2 separate regions of the Homo sapiens genome follow, and region 2 is linked to region 1. The links are contacts of gene promoters, found by promoter capture Hi-C in human tissues and cell types (Jung and others, 2019). All regions are on one chromosome and are shown on one strand. The core of a region is centred on a gene start or on the middle of the fragment in contact, and the rest is flanking DNA. Distances in the headings are between cores, read along the strand shown. Region 1 holds the start of PPP1R3G (protein phosphatase 1 regulatory subunit 3G). Region 2 overlaps FARS2 (phenylalanyl-tRNA synthetase 2, mitochondrial).

The links. Contacts are between HindIII fragments. The study calls those that stand out against the background at their distance.
Region 2: a contact is called between a fragment that was not itself captured here and the fragment with the promoter of PPP1R3G in region 1, in 1 of the 25 tissues and cell types used here (lymphoblastoid cells).

The regions. Positions count from the first base shown.
Region 1 is chr6:5,083,687-5,087,127 of GRCh38, reverse strand. It overlaps PPP1R3G (protein phosphatase 1 regulatory subunit 3G), which reads right to left and starts at 1,787. Exons shown (of 1, transcript NM_001145115.3): 1 at 1-1,787. The coding sequence starts at 1,642. The coding sequence ends at 566. The region is part of intron 3 of LYRM4-AS1 (LYRM4 antisense RNA 1); the gene reads right to left. It also overlaps a transcript of LYRM4 not described here. RefSeq lists silencers at 1,036-1,265, 1,296-1,345, 1,486-1,585, 1,836-2,015, 2,426-2,705 and 1 more and an enhancer at 816-1,505. The HindIII fragment of the contact is 9,723 bases long and covers 1-3,441 here.
Region 2 is chr6:5,416,174-5,419,948 of GRCh38, reverse strand. The region is part of intron 3 of FARS2 (phenylalanyl-tRNA synthetase 2, mitochondrial); the gene reads right to left. Among named protein-coding and RNA genes, the nearest start is that of FARS2-AS1, 40 kb to the left of the region's middle. The HindIII fragment of the contact is 4,384 bases long and covers 1-3,775 here.

The sequences.
Region 1 (3,441 bases), core at 538-3,037:
CAGTCAAAAGAAAAGGGTGGCCTGGCCCAGCCCCGAAGGGTTTTCTCTGAGAAATAGGTTGGGGTGTAAAGGTCCCACGCGTGCACCCACAGTCCGTGGCACCTTCCTCTGGTGCACCGTGGCAGGACGCTTTGTTCTTTCCCTAGGGGTCTCCAGCAAACTGCAAGGGCTACAATATGATATTTAGAGTTAAAAACCAATCCCAAGGCCTTAGAACCATGCCCGGGAGTTGGGAGCCTTTTTCTTGGAGGCAGCTGCTCCGGGCCTTGGAAGTTTCTTCCTATTCTGACGCAGGCTGGGAATTCTAGAGGCCTTGTAGGAAGGTCAAACGGACGAGAAGACTGAGGTCAGAGGCTTTCGGAGCATTGCCCGGGCTCTCTAAGCTCGCTCACTTGTCTGCGGGGGTGCGAGTCGACGGTTCAAAGTCTCCCTCCTTTCCCTCCACGCGCCCCTCACGCCAGACTCGCCACGCTCAGCAAAGCGTCCCAGCAAGTTCCTTGAGGCGGCAGCCCGAGCTCCACGTGCTAATCAACCCCGCCCCACGGCTCTTCGAAACTCTCCAGGCTCAGAGCGCGTCCGCAGGGCGCGCGTAGCGCAGCGTGTAGTTGGCGCCCGCGTTGTTGTCCCAGTACTCGCCCTGCGCGCAGCGGTAGCAGACAGCGAAGTGGACCGCGACGCCGCGCTCGTCGGCGTCCTCTTCGTCCTCAGGCTGCAGGCCCGGGGGCAGGCACAGCGAGAAGTGGAAGCACTCGGCGCCTGGCTCTTTCTTGGCATCCCCGGACCCTGGCTCGGAGGCCCCAGACGGTGCCTCTGGCTGCTGTGGCTCCAGCGGCTCGGGCTGCAGCTCAGCCGGCACGTCCAGGAAGGAGCGCCACTCGGTAAAGGTGTAGCGCACGGTCACGGCCCTGGGCCCAGGGCAGCTGAGCACCCGGCCGGAGCCCTTCACCTCAGCGCCCGAGGCCGTCGAGCACTGCACGCGCTCCAGGCACACGCGCTGCCGCTGCAGACGCTCGGCCGCGGCGCTCGGCCCCGGGAGCTGGAAGAGCGGCCGGAGCCGGGAAGGCGGCGCTGAAAGGGGCGCGGCCACTGCCGCCGCGGCCAGCAGCCCCCCGAGCTGCTCCAGGTCCTCGGCACGCATAGGGAAGCTTCGGAGGCGCGAGAGCACGGCGGGCGGCACCTGCGGCTCCTCCGCCTCGCTGAAGTGCTTCACGCTGGCCAGGCTTAGCCCCAGCGTGTCCGCGAACTGCACCCGCTTCTTGCACTTGGCGCAGCAGCCGCCCGGGCCGAGCTGTGCGTCCTCCGCCCCCTCGCCGCCCAGTGCCACCGCCTGTTGCTGCTGCTGCTGCAGGAACTTGGCCGCCTGCAAGATGGGGTCGGCGGGCAAGGAAAAGGAGCGCGCGCGGCAGCGGCGGCGGCATTCCAGCAGCTCCTCCTGCTCCTGGGGGGCGGCCTCTTCCTTCGGGGACAGGGGCCTATCCCCTAGCTGAGCGTCAGGACTCGGGGTCTCCGAAGCGCCACCGCCGTCGCCGCCACCCTGCACACAGGGGACCACCGGGGCGGGCAGCTCCTCGGCCGGCGGGGCCTCTCGGAAGGGCGCTGGTCCCGGCGCCTCCAAACTTAGCCGCGCCCCTATGGGCTCCATGACGCCGTTCGCCCCTGGACTTGCTCGGGCCGAACCGGGCCCCTCTGGAGACTTAACTAACTCCTCGGGCCGTGGAAGGAGCGCAGGGCTGCAGTTCAGGCTCGCCCTCCCCGAGGCGAGTCGCCCCAGGCTCGACAAGACAACGTAGTTCCACTTTGGAGCCTCCGGCTTTTAGCTGCGGCTGCCCAGGGCGAAGTGGGAGGAGGATGCGGGCCTGGGGCCGGCTCCGGGGCCACGCCGCCTCCCGGTTGAACCTGCCCGCGACGGGGGAGGGCCGGGGGCGGGGAGGCGCGGCCGCTGGGACACCTGGAAGCCGTGTTCCCGAGTGCTCCGGTGGAATGCGGGGGGCGACTTTCTGTCGTTCGCGGGCTCCCTGCAGCCCTCACCCGCACCCCCGGCGGGGCTCGCGTCTGTTCCGCTTCTTGAGTGCCTCGAAGTGGGGGTGCAGAGCTCGCGCTCAACCTTCAGAGACCCCCACGTGCACAAAGTCTTCCTGCCCATGAACTTGGCCTGACGGCTCTGCCCCCAGAGGGTCACTGAGCGCTCTCCTCTTGGCTGCCTCACGGGCTGGGGAGTCCCCGGTGCAGCGCGCAACTGGGGAAATCTTGCCTACGCAGAGGCTGGAAGGAGGCCCATTCCGCGCCGCCGGAGAGCGGGGAGCGCATCCCTTCCCTTCTGCTCCTGCTTTCCCCAAACTTCAGGGCGCCCCGGGTTCCAATCCCACTCGGAAGCCTGACTCGGTCAGGCGCGCTCCGCTCTGCTCTTCCGAAAGCCGGGAGGCAGGAGCCGCCGCCCCCATCTGCCCAGTGGCGGCGCGGGGTGGGCTGCGGCCAGACTGGGGCGGGGACCGTGTGGGGACGCGCCGGGGAGCGGCCATGGCCCGCAGCCGAGAGCGGCCGGAGGCCATTCGCGCCAGGCCCGGGAGCACGTCCCGCCCCTCCCCCTGTCCCGCCCGACGCGCCCGCGAGTCCGCGCCCCGGGATCCCGCAGGGAGGGCGGAGAGGGGGCCCCGTGGGGCCGGCGCCCACGCGGCACGCACCACCTCCCACCGCAACCGGACGCCAGCGCCCCAAGCACCCTCCCCGCCCACCGGGAGTGGGGGCGTGGCCCGCGCCGGACTGCGCTGTCACCGCCCTGCTGCTCCGGCCTTGCCAGGGGCCAAGGCCCGAACCTGAGGCCGGGGAGGGGTGGGGAAGCGCGTCGTGGTACCTAGGGATTGGGGGAACGTCTAAAAGTGGTGTTTTTCTTGTTTTGGTTTTAAGGCCACCCTGAGGGCCATCTAAGTCAGTGATTCTACTTCAGCATGCACGGACATCACTCGGGGGCCCGTTGTCACATCACAGGGCCCCACTCCCAGAGTTTCCTTCTTTCTAACTTTTTCGAGATAGGGGTCTTGCTATGCTGCCCAGGTTGGTCTCAAATTCCCGGCCTCAAGCAGTCCTCCCGCCTCAGCCTCTAAGGTAGCTGGGATTACAGGCGCCCCCCACTGCTCCCAGCTCCCTAGCGTTTGTGACTCAGTGGGCTTGGGCTGGGGCCTGGAAGTATTTCTAACAAGGGGATGCTGATGCTGGGCTCTGGGGACCGTATTTAAACCTATGTGGATGTGTATTCAGTTACTTATATAGAAAGTTGGGGATTCTAGAAACAGAACCACTAATTAAGAAACGTAATTAATTGGGGCTTCATAACTAAAACATGTCATGGTTTGGCAGAACTGAAAGGGGCCAGGGTTTTAGCCATGTTGGCAGAGGGCAGGCAAAAGAGATGGTGGGTGAGGAGCGTGTTAAGAGCTTACATTG
Region 2 (3,775 bases), core at 580-3,079, 330 kb before region 1:
ACTAATACAAAATGTAAACCTCCACAGGCCAGAAGCAAAACAGGAAGAGAGGATAAAGTGAGCCTGCTGGGCTTGGGGTCCACAACCAAGAAGAACCAGGAGCCTGCCTCCTGCAGGATGGCACACTGTGGGCTTGGGGCAGGAGGGAGGCAAAAAGCTTCAAGTCAGAGGCTGGGATGGGATAAGCTCCATGACGGTGCCAGAAGGAAGTCAAATACTGTCACCCAAATGCAGCATGGGGCTGTAGATCTAAGGAGCTTTAAGATTAGGGATCCAAGCCATAGGCCTAGGATCAGCTCCATCCCCTCATTGTATGGGTGCTAGACATCTGATGGATCCCTGGGAAATCTCACTCTGGATTTCAAGCCTAGAGAATTGGGTGGAATCACCTGCAAATCCACTTATAGGGTGAATAGTAAGAGACGGGGGATGGGGGAGAAGGACAGGAACGAAGAAAACAGAGAAACGGTAAAGAACAAAAAAACCTTCCTCTGAATATGACCCTGCAACCCAAAATTCTAAAACATATGGACAAATCTAATGCTAAGTAATACAGCCAGCAGAACAAATAATCAAACATTAACTTACCTCAGTTGAGATTATTTTTATGAAACAATCTGAGACTTTAAAATAAGTGTGTTTTAGATATCTTAAGAGATACATGAAAGCACAATTCACTGATGTGTTCTAGAAAATAAAATTCATAAAAATTCTGGTTTTGTAAAACAGATCTAAAAATGCATCTTTAGGATTGTATCCATCTCCCAGTCAAATTCTTCTCTGAGAAGGAAAACACCAGCCACCCTTTCAAAGAGTTCCTGTCACAAACATTAAGCTGCATCAGAAAAGAAGACCAAAAAAGACACAGAGAGTAAGTGATGAGAGAGATGTAAGAATATAATGAAGGCGAAGAGGGGAATGAGATGTAATAGAAAATTGCAGGAAGGAAGGTCCAGAAGGAGTAGCCAAACGATTCAAATGAAAAAGAGAAACTTCCACATCTGGACAGGATGGAATAATAAACCAGTTTTACCCTTCCATATGAAAAACTAATAATAATAATAATAATAATAAAAAGACAAATATATAAAATCACACCACTCAAAACAGAGGACACCAGGTGACCAAGGACACAGACCCCCCAGAGGGGTGAGACCTAAGGAGAACATGGGAGAGCCCAAAAGTCTCCTTGATTTGAGGAGACAGAGCCGGGAGTCTGGACAAGTCAGGATAGCTAGAATTCTCAGGGCAGAGTAAAGGAGAGAAGAGAGCTGCGCGAAGAACTCTGGAGATCTGCAGAAGAACCCCTTCAGCATTCAACTGAACACTGATCATGTGTGTTGAAAAATCTACCTGAGGTCAGGGAACAAACCACACAAAAGGATTAGAGGGAATAAAGTTGGAGCTCACACAGGACCAGGAATAGTGCCAGTTCTCAACAGCCAAGGGGAAAACCTCATAATTCACGGGTTATCGGTTACAGAGCTAAGACAGGTCTCGCATAGGTAGTGGGCAAAACTATCCCCAGACGAAACTCTATACTGGTCCTGCCTAGTAAGGCTTAAAAAGAAGACCTAAATGGATCAAAGTGTTTCTAAGTAATCCCAGAATAAAGCTCGCGGATATTAGGAAGGTAAAAAATATCCAATGCATCAGAAGGTAAAATTAACAATGTTTGGCAATATCCTATAGTAAATTACCAGGCATGCAAAATAGAAACAAAATACATAATACAAAGTACAGAAGAATCAAAAGCAATTCACCAAGGAATGACAGATGTCAGAATTAGTAGGAAAAAATGTGTTAAAATATGTATTATATATTCGTTATGTTCAAAAAGCTAGAAGAAAGACTAAACACGTTAAGTAGAAACAGGGATGATATTAAAAAGATCCAAACTGAAGCAAATGAATGAGATGAAAAATACACAGGAAGGAGTTAACAGAAAATTAGACACTGTAGAAGAAATATTGGTAAACTTGAAGATAAAGCAATAGAAATTATCCAAAATGCAATATAGAAGGAAAAAAAAATCACTGAAAGAAAAATGAACAGAGCACCAGTAGTGGAAAAGTTTTAAGTGGCCACATACACATGCAAGTGGAGTACCTAAAGGAGGAGAGTAACAGAAAGTATCTGAAGAAATAATTGACCACAATTTTCCAGATTTCACGAAAAATATAAATCCAAGAAGCTCAACCAATTCCAAACATAAGAAATCTGAAGAAAACTGTATCTATGTACATCATAATCAAACTGCTTAAAACCAGTGACAAAGAAAACATTGCAAAACGACTCAGAGAGAAGAGACACATTATGTACAGAAAAACAAAGACAAAAGCAAAGTTAAGAGCAGATTTCTCACAGGAAACAGGGCAAGTGAGAAGAGATCTAGGAATATCACCTCTAAAAAACTAAAAGGGCCAGGGCACAGTGGCTCATACCTGTAATCCCAGCAGTCTGGGAGGCCGAGGAAGGAGAATCACTTGAGGCCAGGAGTTCAAGACCAGCCTGGGCAACATGGTGACACCCCATCTCTCTACAATTTTTTTTTTATTTTAAAAGTTAGCGGGGTGTGGTGGTGCACACCTGTAGTCCCAGCTCCTCAGGAGGCTGAAGTAAAAGGATCCTTTGAGCCCAGGACTTGGAGGCTGCAGTGGGCCATGATCACGCCATTGCACTCCAGCCTAAGTGACAGAGCAAGACCCTATCTCAAAAATAAATACACAGAGGTAAAAAAAACTATTAATCTAGAATTCTTTTCCCAGTGAAAATATCTCAAAAATAAAGGCAAAATAAAAGCTTTATGGACATACAAATGCAAAAGAATTCATCACTAGCAGAAGCAGACCTTCTGCTGTGCAGAAGGAAAATATCAGTTGGGAACCCAGATGAAGAGCACTGAAGATGGTAAGGACCTAGGAGATATAAAGACTTTTCTTACTATTTAAATATCTTTAAAAGCTGATCAACTATTCAAAGCAAAAACAATCATAACGTATTTAGGAGTTGATAGTATACATAAGAATTAAAATATGTGACGGCACAAAGGCCAAGATGGGAAACAGGGAAGTCTGCTGTTCTTACGCTATACAGAAGTGGGGTAACAGCACTCAAAGTGAAGTGAGACTGTGATAACTGTAAATCCTAAAGCAACTGCTACAATAACAAAACAAAAAGTTACCCCTCATAAGACAAAGGAAATAAAATGGAATAATAAAAAATACAATTAATCCAAACAAAGTAAGAGAACAAAGAAAAAAAATGTTACTCATAGAAAGCAAATAGCAAAATGATCATTTCAATCCAACAACATCAATAATAACATCAAATGTAAACAATCTAATTAAAATAACTTTGAAAAAAGAACAAAGTTACAAGAATTTAACCGATTTTAAGGCATTATAAAGCTACTGTGATAAAGACAGTGAAGTATTGTGTCAAGATAGACAAATAACAGATGCATGGAACAGAATAGAGAGTCCAGAAATAGCCCCAGACATACATGGTTAATTGATTCCAGACAATGGTACGAAGACTTTGCAGTGCAGAAGGAAAGGTCATTTCAACAAACGATGCTGGAACAACTGGATATCAATATGGAAAACAAAATTTCAATCCGTACCTCAGATCATCCATAAAATTCTTCAAAGGAATCACAAATCTAAATATAAAACTGAAAACTATAAAACTTCTACAAGAAAACATAGTAGAAAAATCTTTGTGACCTTGGGTTAGGAAAGATGTCCGAGAAACAATATCAAAAGCATAATCC